2 separate regions of the Homo sapiens genome follow, and region 2 is linked to region 1. Evidence: promoter capture Hi-C in 16 types of primary human blood cells and fetal thymus (Javierre and others, 2016). All regions are on one chromosome and are shown on one strand. The core of a region is centred on a gene start or on the middle of the fragment in contact, and the rest is flanking DNA. Distances in the headings are between cores, read along the strand shown. Region 1 holds the start of OGT (O-linked N-acetylglucosamine (GlcNAc) transferase). Region 2 overlaps NONO (non-POU domain containing octamer binding).

Region 1 (6,951 bases), core at 2,376-4,875:
CAGCATACATAACCATCATTTCTGAGCATTTCAGTCCCTCAAACTGACAGGTCTCATGAAAGGGAGACTGGATGCTCAGATATACATTGATAATAATTTATTACCTGAACAGAGTCTAGAAAGCAGCAGACCCAGATAGAAAAATCTAGAAAAGGTCCCTAGTCATACTGATAATATAACCACCACCACAAAAGGAAGGAGAAAAACTGGCAGCTGGGCATGTCACAAGTGGGCAAGAGAGCAGATGTGCGTTGGCGGCTCAGTTGAAACCCGGTACTGGAAAAATTTCAAGTTCAAATATTTAAGTATCATTTTTCAAGCTCAGCACCCAGAGGCAGCAATCACGAGCAGGTACCCCAACATCTCCTACCTGTCCAGCCTTCGACACTGGAAGTGTATAGATGAAAGTAATAAAAGCACACCAGTATTGTCTGGCTCTTGTCTCCAGAGCTGCATGCAGTGTCTCTCAGCTGCCTCAAAATCTCCTGCCTGATATTCTCGATGTGCCAACTCAGCTAACCCTTGGAAGGAAAGCATACGTTTCGTTGGTTCTGGAGAATCATCAAAACATTTGAGGGAAGGAGGGGGGAAAACAAAAAGTTAGAAATGTAAACCAAAAAAATGTAAAAATATGGTATATTTAACTTAAAAATGGAAATGCTTGAAACTATGTAAAGCACTAGAGTGTTCTGCACGTTATGTATATCTTCAAGTTAACATCAAGTGCAGAATTGGCATTTTTAGAATTCACCCATTAATACTTTCTTTCCCAAACTAGAAAGGAATATTTACTTCCATATGAGATTACATTTTATGACCAAAAATACTTTGTACTTTTAAATTATAAATCATAGGTAGCATCTAAGGATTCACTGAACATTATTCCTTATACCTTAGTTAACATACAGAAACAAAATATTAAACGTGTGATTTGCAAGGTCACAAAGACTTAATAATATCAGAATAACATATTGGGAAACGTAATATTTTGTGCCATATTTCAGGTTGGATTTGTTGAGGTGGAGTACTGGTAACAATCTATCAATCTTAACCTCAGTGAGGACACCAGATGTGTTAATTCTTTAAATTATATCAATTTTTGTATATTTCAGAATTTAATTCTTTAAAAGGACAAGTAGAAACGAGCCTAAGGGAAAAACCAAAAAGTCAAAGTGCTATTTTTAAAACAGCTGATAAACAAGATGTTTGTCATTTGACAACAGCCAAAATAGTTAAAGGGGTCATCAAACATTTTAAATAAAGACCCAAGATTACACTGCTCCTCTACCATCCCAAACTCAAAAGGAGACTAAATTGGCTAAATCCCACCCACGTTGGTTTAGCACTAACATTTTCCAAACAGCTCTGGTATTGACTAAAGGATTAAGACATTGCAAACAAGCCTATATAAGCCAGGCAGTTACCTGCAACTGCAATGGTCAAAACGTTGGGAGGGAGGGAGGATGGACGCTAAAATATATTTGATAAAGCGCAACATAATGAATAAATAAAAGCACTTCGCTGCAAGTGACTTAATCCAGATACATAAAGATCTTTAAAGGATATAGCTAAAGCCCAGAGAGGGAAAAAAAAAAAAAAAAAACTGCTTGTCACAACTGTAAATACTTAAACTGGGAATTCGACCGTAGCACTTCACTAGCTGGTTGAAATGGGAAACCATGGACAAATTATTTAATTCTACCAAGGTTAAGGTGACTAGTTCAAATTTGAGCCCAGCTCCCCAATCATCAGAGCTGATGAGCGTTCCGGATACTGAGGAAAGCAAAGTAAATTTCCTGACAGAATGCACAGCTGACCACCAACACAAAGAGCATTGAGACTTGCATCCACATCTGGGAGAGGTTATATCTTTAATAGAAACTAAAATTACATTTTAGCTAAGTCTCTAGAACTTCCTAGCTCCTTGTTTTCACACATTACTTTGTCACTTTTCAATGCCGCTTATCTGCTATTTTAACACTTGAAACGACAGCTTTCTCAAATAAATAACACATTAAAAAGGGCAAGCTAGTACAGAATCCAGTACAGAATCTTAAACCTTTGAAAATCACGGTGGAGACGTGGGGAGAGGAGCACGGACTAATTATTAATCCCACTCCCTACAATTACGGATAAGACACTATTGACGATTCACCTACTACTTACAGCACAACTTCCAGGAACAGTAGCTAAAACCCTCCACACATCTCAACTGAGAAACAACCAAAAAATAACCTCGCGGGAAACCTCAGAAGCGCAGCCCAATTCCCCACCCCCTTCCGCCCAAATCGCCTCAATATGGAAAGGCAGCTGAAGGACACTCCTACAATTTGGTTGTTTTCGTATTTTCAGTACCAAATGCTCGCGACTGAAGTGTCTAAAAGGGCAACCGCCTTGTACTTGTGCAGCTACACTCCAGTTGCTTTACAAACTCTTCAAGCAGGGATGGAAACTTAAAAGAATATTACACCCTGTGAATAAAGAGATACTGGGCTGAAGAATGGGGATGGCAGACCCAGAGGCGGCGGCGGAGGAATACATCGAGAAAGTAACACAAAGCGAGAATTGGGCGGGCAGGGTGGTCAACGCCAAAGCAGCAGCATCGGGGTGGTTTCTCCCCCAAGGATAGGAAGTGAACAGGGCTGGCAACCTCGCGAAGGGAAGGGTGTGGTTCCCCGCGGACAGGGTGGGAAATCCAGGCTGAGGGCAGCGGTGGAATTGGGCGATGGCAAAGGAAACCCCTGGAAATTTCCAATCTAAACCGGGACCGCTCAACCGAAAGAACACCAGAAAGGCACTGCCTAGCAGGGTGCTGCTCAATGTCCCCTCTTCTCGAGGTGACTTGTGGCACCATCGACGAGCTTTTGATCGTCCTCGGGTGATGCAAAGTGAGGATATGATTACATCGGAACGGCACCCCCGCCCTAGATTGGCAGAGAAGGACCAAATCTGGCTAAGGGGAAAAGACTGGGGGGGGAGATGAAGGAGGAGATGGAGGGGAAAAAGGAGAGGCGATGAGCTGGAATTAGGGGAGAAAACCGCTGCAAAGGAGTGAAAGGGCAGGGATTCCAATGCAGTCCATTCCACGACATTCTAAGCGCGCACGTGTGATAAAAGCGCCTGGAGAGAGTGGAATGCTAGAACATTTACGAAATAAAAACAAAGCAAGAAAGGCAGCAAAAAGCAAGCAAGGGAGGAGGAGGAAATGTTCGGGAAGCGGACAACAGCGGAAAACCCGATGTGATCAGATGCCAGTAGACCACGAAAAGCTTAGCAATGTCACTGATGTAATGGGGATGGTTCGAGGGAAGGGAGGGAAGGAGTGATACAAGGTAGAGGACGGCGCGAGACCCCAAGGGGGCATCTGCCAAGGTAGAACGGGACACCGGTACCTGTGCTGTCGGCCACGTTGCCCACGGAAGACGCCATCTGGAGCTTCTCGAGGGAGAGCAAAAAAGAGGTAATTGGTCCTGCTGCCGCCACTACCAGCAAGAACGTATTTGGAGGTAGTAGTACAAGGGCAGCAGCCGTAGCAATGCTCTGGAGGGCTTGAGCGGCGGCAGCAGTTACAGGCTTCAAACCCTGGGAACTCTAATTGACCATCTACCTAGTACGGTCTTGAAATGGCGGCGACGGCTCCTCGGCCGAAACAACATGGGCCGGAACTACTTTCTGTTACAATCAAGTGCCCGCGCGGAGGTAGCCGGTAACCAGCGCCGCCAACAAAATGACTTCAAGCTGCAAAGTCGAGATTCCATGTAGTCCTCCGCGCAGCGCCCATTGCGACAAACACCACGGTGGAGACCGCGCATGCGAGCAGCCCTGTCAACCCGACTCGTGGTTAGGGCACTCTCTGGGGCGGAAGCGGCCAAGTTTCTTAAGAGTGTAGCGGAAGGGTAAAAACAAACACACACGGGACGGATACGTTTTTGCCACCGCGATTAAGAAGAGTGTTTGTTACTTAGCAGGTGGTGTCGTTTTAAACATAAATGCCAAAGGCGTCTAAAAAAGTTTATCAACTGTATTCGTACAAAAACGGATGGTTACGACTCTCACGGATCAATTCTGAGCCAGTCAATTCAGAAGATTGCCTCTCAAAGACAGCTGCTCAAAACGAGGAGCGAGAGGGTTCCGATTTGAGCCCGTCTTCATTGTGACTCGGCCATCGATTTCAGCACTTCGATGAAAAAGACTGAAGCTTTCACAGGGCCAGTTGAATGCAGACACCTTCAATGTTGGCCGTATAGCCTGAAATTTCAAAATCGTTTTGGTATTCAGAATACTCCTGCCCACGGTGATAGGGCAAATGTTTAATAACTCAGGGACATGCTGGGCGTTTGCACTCCGAAGGCAGCCATAAAAATGTTAAAGGTGATTCACGTTCGTCAAAATCCATGACTCTCCTCGAGTTGTGACTTCATTTCCACCAGCTAGCTCTGCACATTGTCACAGTCGGCGATTCCACTGAGCTCAAAGCAGATCAACAATGATAAATGAATTCACTTGCCATCTGCCTAAACCACACGTCTAGATTGAGTCATGAATTGCCTCTACTTCCTTGAACAAATCGGTTCTTACGATCTTCCTGCAGTTTCAAGTCTACTGTTCAGACATTTTGTCACATTGGTATTTATACTTCACCTCTTGTTCTAGAAACGACTTAAGGTAGCTTGCCACATCAGCAAGAAAGTATTACAAGCCACTGGAGGCTACAAGTTGGATCTCTGAGAGCCTTTTTATTTCAAAAAGTCCTTGATCTAAGAAAGCAGGTCAATGAATTTCTTCAAAAAGTTTTTGCTACCTAGCCCCTTCACTACATTTTTTAAAACTAAGTCCTCAAATTCTGCTTAAATTTCTTCAAAACAGTCAACAAACAATTAATTATGGAAATGGCACAGAGAAAATTCATAATGCTAATTTCTTCCATCCCATAATCAAGAGTCACATCATGCAGTGAAAAAGACAAAAATCACTACACAAACTCTCCTGAAAATTGAGCACCAACCTCTTGTAATTTGATTTAACTGGTAAAACCTCCCCCCCGCACACACACACCTACTACAAGTTCCCTATCTGTAATGAGTAAACTCAGCTTTTCAACTTTTAGAAGAGACTTCTCAGATTCCACTGGCAGATGTTTAGGCCTTGCTGATGAGCGGGTGCTAGCTAATTAACAAAAACTCTTTTTGTTGTTAAATGCAGGTCATGTTCCTAATTCTTCAGCCAATAAGTAACATTTACTAGAGTCTCTATGTGCAAGGCACTGTGGGGGGCACAAAAATGAACAGAAATCCTCGCCCTCAAGGAATCTGAAGCCTAGTTAGGTAGACACAAAAAGCTACTAGAGAGCAATACAGAAGACTATTTAGATGATAAAATATATTACTCTCTATGAATATCTAGGGAGGAAACAGGTAAGGTTGGAGGGGGTGAGAAAGAAGCCTTGATCTAGACATTGAAGGAAGTGCTTTTGTATGTTTTTTATTGTTGTTCACATTGATTTCTGGGTTTTTTTTATGTGCAATTTTAAATTTAGAACCAATTATAATTAAATCAGCTGGGTCTTCAACCCCAATCCCAAACTTTGTCACCCAGTAACACCACTGATGTTGCATTACTTTTTTTGCTGCTGTGTAACAAAGTATCACAAATACAGCTGCTCAGAACAACACACATTTCACAGCAGTAGCACCAGCGCTGGATGAGACCCGGGCTGGTGGCTGCTGTTGCACTGCTGCTGAAAAAAAATGGCTCCAAAGGTTAAATGAAGCCAAAGAAATACATAGATGTGAGAGGAGAAGCCAGCTGGACTTCCTGGGTTGGGTGGGGACTTAAAGAACTTTTCTGTCTTACAAGAGGATTGTAAAATGCACCAATCAGCACTCTGTAGCTAGGATTGTAAAACGCACCAATCAGCGCTCTGTGGCTAGCTAGAGGTTTGTAAAATGCGCCAATCAGTGCTCTGTAAAAACACACCAATCAGTGCTCTGTGGCTAGCTAGAGGTTTGTAAAATGGACCAATCAGCAGTCTGTAAAATGGACCAATCAGCGCTCTGTAAAATGGACCAATTAGCACCTTGTAAAATGGACCAATCAGCACTCTGTAAAATGGACCAATCAGCAGGACATGGGTGGGGACAAATAAGGGAATAAAAGCTGGCCACATTCCGCACCCACCCACCCACCCACCCACCAGGCCAGTAGTAGCAACCCACTCGGGTCTCTTTCCACACCGTGGAAGCTGTGTTCTTTCCGTCTTCACAATGAATCTTGCTGCTGCTCACTCTTTGAGTCCGTGCCACCTTTAAGAGCTGTAACACTCACCGTGAAGGTCCGTGGCTTCATTCTTGAAGTCAGCGAGACCAGGAACCCACCAAAAGGAACCAACTCCAGAACCACCTCCGGAGGGAGATGCAGCCGCACAGGCTCTCCAGGGGTGCGGGACTAATATTCCAGAGAGAAATTGGTCCCCTGGATGAAGTAACCAGTCACAAAGACTAATTAAAATTGATCTTAAAACCTTCCAGAAATCTTGTAACCTGAATAAAAGTAAAGAAGAAACTGATTTCATGGTAGTACAACAACCATCACTAACTAGTGAATGTGGAAAAGATGATTTCTTATTTGGTAGCTGCACTGGTAAAGATATGGCCACCTGTGATATCAACAGTGAAAGATGAAAAAGGTAAAAAAGGAAAAAACAATGAAAGCCTAATGAGTACATTGAAAAAGGCAGCTTTCTGCAAAACAAAAGCAGAACAGCAAGGGGAGCACACCCTATGGGAGTTCTGCCAGATGAGGATACTTTTTCTCTCAGCACCAACAGTCTTTAAAGATGTGAGAGCTCAAAGACCAATAAGGTCCACTTCCCTCCACAATCCTCACTGTAGTCCTCTCCTTGGCTTACAAACTAAGGAGACACGTATCAAAACGGAGATGAGACGAAGAGAC
Region 2 (5,790 bases), core at 1-2,500, 240 kb after region 1:
AGACATTACCTTTTAGAGTTGTTAGGGAAAAAGTGTTCGAGAAAAGTTACCTGAGCTCCAGTTGCTTTCGTTTTTGCACCTCTTGGTTGTGCAGCTCTTCCATCCTCCGAAGTTCTTCTTGGCGCCTCATCAAATCTAAAAAAACAACAGACTAAGAATATTCCTCATTGTCTTCATATAGATCTAATGACTTTCTTCAAATAAAGATCCAGAAAGCAAAGAGGATCTAATTCCTTTGGAACCACCTGTGGTGTCCAGATTCCAAAATGAAGTTATACCTATCATTTCCTTCTCCACAGAATCCAGTATCTCTGCCACATCTCCAAGCCTATTTATCTACCAAAATCAACGCAAACTAAGTATAAAAGCAGAGATGTAGGCCCTTCTGTTAATTGATACAAAGAAACCCATTTAAAAATGTCATTTTGTCCTTTCAGCTTTAAGACTTACAGGCCTAGACTCACCCTGTCTCATTAGCATGACCTGGTGCTCATGGCGTGCAGCTTCCATCTCCATCTCCAGCTTCTCACGAGCCTCCTTGATGTTGCGGTCCACTTGGTCCTGCTGCTGCTTCTCCATCTCAATGAGTGCCTTCCAGCGCATGGCATATTCATACTCAAAGGAGCCAGGCTGTGCAAATCTGGGTGGCTGCTCTCGTTCCCTATAGGCAAGGTTCCTAGGTTACTAACTTTGTCCAGAATTACCCCAGCTAAGAATTGCATTCCTTGTGAGGACCAAGATAATGGCTGCCAGTGAACATGTGCAGCAAAGACCTGCCTCTTTTACATATCCCTTTATAAGCTTTCTTAAGAAGGAAACACCTAATAGGGAAATCTATCAAGACTGCATACTTGTGAAATTGCTGGTTTTTTATAACCAGCTTCTCTGGAAGTCCCTCTTCATCATCTAACTGGTCCATGGGCTCCACAGTCACAGGACGAGGAAATCTGGAAGAAAGAACAAAGTTCAGTGTTAATCAAATCATACCCCACCAGGCTTCTTCTCTACACATGTCACTGGCACAATGAATTAGCTAGGGCTCAGGATTGGAGGCTTCTGAAGTTTTTATACCTAATGACATTATAAAAAATTTGGGGTTGGGCTGGGGGTGGTGGCTCACGCCTGTAATCCCAGCACTTTGGGAGGACGAGGCGGGTGAATCATGAGGTCAGGAGTTCAAGACAAGCCTGGCCAACATGGTGAAACCCTGACTCTACGGACGTCTGTAATCCCAGCTACTTGGGAGGCTGAGGCAGGAGAATCACTTGGACCCGGGAGACAGAGGTTGAAATGAGCCGAGATTGTGCCACTGCACCACTCTAGCCCGGGCTACAGAGTGAGACTGTCTCAAAAAAAAAAAAAAAAAGAAAAGAAAAAGAAAAAAGAAAATCTGGGGTTGACAGGACGAAATCAGGACTTAGATCTCTGAATACAGTCTCAAAAAGATATTCCAAGTAGGTAGGTGCAGTACTTAAGTACAGCCTAAACATCTACAGACACTCTGAGAAATGACTTGTGGTAAACACTAAGAGATACTGCAGGCACAAATCAACTTTTCAGAACTCTAAATCTTCAAAGTAAAGAGAGACTTAACACTGACTACATGACAACCTACCGAATGACTAAAAAGTTATTTTTCATAATCGTCATCCCACGTCTATTAATATAAGATTACAGAAAAATCATACGAGAAAGCTTAGTACCAAAAGTCTTTTTTTTTGGAAACGGAGTCTTCCTCTGTCGCCCAGGCTAGAGTGCAGTGGTGCAATGTCGGCTCACTGCAACCTCTGCCTCCCGGGTTCAAGTGATTCTCCTGCCTCAGCCTCCCGAGTAGCTGGGATCACAGGCGCCCACCACCGCGTCCAGCTACTTTTTGTATTTTTAGTAGAGACGGGGTTTCACCACCTTGGCCAGGCTGGTCTCAAACTCAGGACCTCGTGATTCACCCGCCTCAGCCTCCTGAAGTGTTGGTATTACAGGCATGAGCCACCATGCCCAGGCTAATACCAAAAGTCTTTTTTTTTGGAGACGGAGTCTTGTTCTCTTGCCCAGGCTGGAGTGCAGTGGCGCAATCTCGGCTCACTGCAAGCTCCACCTCCCAGGTTCACGCCATTCTCCTGCCTCAGCCTCCAGAGTAGCTGGGACAACAGGCGCCCGCCACCACACCCGGCTAATTTGTTGTATTTTTTAGTAGAGACGGGGTTTCACCGTGTTAGCCAGGATGGTCTCGATCTCCTGACCTGGTGATCTGTCCCGCCTGGGCCAAAAGTCTTTTTTTTTTTTTTTTTTTTGAGACAGAGTCTTGCTCTATCGCCAGGCTGGAGTGCAATGGCACAATCTCGGCTCACTGCAACCTCTGCCTTCCAGGTTCAAGTGATTCTCCTGCCTCAGCCTCCCAAGTTGCTGGGACTACATGTGCGCTAATTTTGGTATTTTTATTTTATTTATTTGTATTTTTAGTAGAGACGGGCTTTCAGCATGTTGGCCAGGATGGTCTTGATCTCCTCAACTCATGATCTGCCCGCCTCGGCCTCCCAAATTGCTGGGATTACAGGCGTGAGCCGCTGTTTTGCCCAGTCTTTTATTTATTTTTTTGAGGCAGTTTCACTCTGTTGCCCAGGCTGGAGTGCAGTGGCGTGATCTCAGCTCGCTGCAACCTCTGCCTCCTGGGTTCAAGCGATTCTCCTGCCTCAGCCTCCCAAGTAGCTGGGAATACAGGCACACGCCACCATGTTTGGCTAATTTTTTGTATTTTTAGTAGAGACAGGGTTTCACCATGTTGGTCAGGCTGGTCTCCAACTCCTGACCTCAGGTGATCCGCCTGCCCCGGCCTCCCAAAGTGCTGGGATTACAGGAGTCAGCCACCATGCCAGGCTGACCAAAAGTCTTTAAACATAGAAAAGTGGTTACTAGAGGCTAACTCTCCAGACCATGGAAGGAATTAGCAATCTAAGGTCTACGTCTGAAAATGACCCTCACTTACGTGGTTAGCAGGAAGGAGCCTTCACTGCATCTGTCCAGAGCTTTCCGAGCAGCTGGCTTCCCTGAGAACTCAACAATGCCTTTTCCTGAGGGCCTTCCTCGATCATCCACAATGACTACAGCCCTCTCTACCTGGCCAAACACAGAAAAGGCTTCTTCCAGCAGTTCGTTGGACACATACTGAGGAAGGTTTCGAACTGTAAGGGATGCACTATGGCAGGCAAAGCGCACACGCAGCTGCTTTCCACGGAGTGGCATATTGTCCAGCTCCACTTTGGCAATCTCCGCTAGGGTTCGGGTTTCCTAGGAAGCAGAGGAAAATCAGAATAACTCAGTTTGACAAAGAACACCTTAGCAGCCATCAACAGTCTAAAGCAGTATAGTTCAATATCTCCCCGGAAAAACTAAACAACCATACAAAGAAACAGAAGTGAAAGAACTTAACTGTGTGCTTCAGCTCTTTGGCCACCCTAGTTTGCTTCTGATGGCCTTGCAATAAATCACATGTAGTTCTAGAAGTCAATAACACTTAGGTGATCATCAATTTCATAGGTATTATTCTCCCAATGACAACAGATCATCCAGAAAACAAAGACCATTGGCCGGGTACGGTGGCTCACGCCTGTAATCCCAGAATTTTGGGAGGCCGAGGCGGGTGGATAACGAGGTCAGGAGATCGAGATCATCCTGGCCAACAGGGTGAAACCTGGTCTCTACTAAAATACAAAAAATTAGCCAGGCGCAGTGGCACGCACTGGTAGTTCCAGCTACTCCAGAGGCTGAGGCAGGAGAACTGCCTGAACCCGGGAGGCGGAGGTTGCAGTGAGCCAAGATCACGCCACCGCACTCCAGCATGGGCAACAAAGCAAAACTCCGTCTCAAAAAAACGAAAACAAAAACTCAAAGACCACCCTAAAACCACCTAGAATATTTTAGTTTTTTTTTTCGAGACGGAGTCTTGCTGTGTTGCCCAGACTGGAGTGCAGTGGAGCAATCTCAGCTCACTGCAACCTCTGCTTCCCAGGTTCAGGCGATTCTCCTGCCTCAGCCTCCTGAGCAGGTGGGATTACAGGCGCTTACCACCATGTCCAGCTAATTTTTGTAGTTTTAATAGAGACGGGGTTTAACCATGTTGGCCAGGCTGGTCTCAAACTCCTGACCTCAAGTGATCCGCCCACCTTGGCCTCCCAAAAAGTGCTGGGATTACAGGCATGAGCCACCATGCTCAGTCTAATTTTTGCTAGGTATGTACCAGAATCACGAATATCCTCCAAGAAGCCTCTTTGGAACCAGGAACCTTGACAGGATCCCTTTCATATTACTAAAGAGAAACCTGATACCCAGAGAAAAATGACTTGGCAGATTGGAATGAAAATCAGTTCTGACCACCCCATCCAGTGATCCTGCTGTCACATTATTCTCTTCCATTTATGGAGGTAGATAATGTCTAGAAATGTTTTCCTCTCATATACTTTCCCTAAATCGAACCAGATTTTAAAATAATGTCTACACTTACAAACGGTTAAGATAGTAAATTTTATGTTATGTATGTTTTACCATCATTAGTTTTTTTTTAAGAGACTGGGTCTCACTCTATCACCCAGGCTGAAGTGCAGTGCTATGAGCATAGCTCACTGTAACCTCAAACTCCTAGGCTCAATCAGCCCTATCAGCTTAGCCTAGTTGAGTAGTTAGACTACAGACGTATACCATGCCTGGTTAATTCAATTTAAAATAGTTTTTTAAAGATACAAATAAACCAGGCACCGTGGTGCGTTGCCTTTGTCCCAGCTACTCAGGAGGCTGAGGACAGAGAATTGCTTAAGCTCAGGAATTCAAGTCTAGCCAAGGCAACATGGTGAGATACCCATCTCTTGATCATGGGGGGACAAAATAGGGAAAGGGTACAGATAAAACAAAATTAACCACAACTTGATAATTACTGAAGCTATGCAATGCATATGTGCAGGTTCATTATTATTCTGTCTACTTCTATATGTTTGAAATTTCCTAATTAAAACAAAAAAGTTCCAGCCAGGTGCAGTGGCTCACATCTGTAACCCCAATACTTTGGGAGGCCAAGGTGGGTGGATCTCCTGAGGTCAGGAGCTCGAGACCAGCCTGGCCAAAACAGTGAAACCCCGTCTCTACCAAAAATACAAAAATTAGCCGGGTGTGGTGACAGACACCTGTAATCCCAGCTACTCAGGAGGCTGAGGCAGGAGAATCACTTGAACCCGGGAGGTGGAGGTTGCAGTGAGCCGAGACCATGCCACTGCACGCCAGCCTGGGCCACAAGAGTGATACTCCGTCTCAAAAAAAAAAAAAGTTCCAAAGGGCATACTTTAGCTCCAGTATCCTAGGCAAAAAACTTGTTATCCTTGAAACAAAACTTATGAGGAAAAATTAAAATGTGCCATTTTTGTGGTTCTGTTTCATCAAGCTTTCAAGGAACACATCATCTGAGAATTATTTCCACTGCCTATTTTTGCACATCTATTATTCTCCAGCTTCCCCACCTTTAGAGCACATGCCTCAAAAGCCAACAGTTGCTCACCAAGCGGATAAAGCCAAATCCTTTATCCTTATGAATGAAGACTTCGCCTGCCTTTCCATATTTCTCAAATAGTTTCCTCATTTCTTCCTCAGTGATGTCGGGAGGAAGATTTCCCACAAAAAGACGGCTTCGTTGGGTGAAGGTCTTCTCTCCTGGTTTTCTAAAATTCTTCAGGTCAATAGTCAAGCCTTCATCTGAGAGAAGACACACAGTCACTTAAAAGACTGGGGAAATAGAATTATAGTCGTATC

The links. The method cuts DNA at HindIII sites, captures the fragments that hold promoters and counts their contacts. A CHiCAGO score of 5 or more calls a contact.
Region 2: a contact is called between a fragment that was not itself captured here and the fragment with the promoter of OGT in region 1, in 3 of 17 cell types (fetal thymus, total B cells and naive B cells). The highest score is 7.1, in fetal thymus.

What each region holds. Positions count from the first base shown.
Region 1 is chrX:71,529,778-71,536,728 of GRCh38, reverse strand. OGT (O-linked N-acetylglucosamine (GlcNAc) transferase) reads right to left here and starts at 3,625. Exons shown (of 22, transcript NM_181672.3): 1 at 3,393-3,625; 2 at 371-551. The coding sequence starts at 3,429. It also overlaps a transcript of TAF1 not described here. RefSeq lists enhancers at 3,051-3,709, 3,535-3,874, 3,375-4,574. The HindIII fragment of the contact is 929 bases long and covers 3,272-4,200 here.
Region 2 is chrX:71,291,722-71,297,511 of GRCh38, reverse strand. It overlaps NONO (non-POU domain containing octamer binding), which reads right to left. Exons shown (of 12, transcript NM_007363.5): 4 at 5,540-5,733; 5 at 2,984-3,285; 6 at 852-947; 7 at 465-661; 8 at 51-135. Among named protein-coding and RNA genes, the nearest start is that of ITGB1BP2, 7.1 kb to the left of the region's middle. The HindIII fragment of the contact is 894 bases long and covers 804-1,697 here.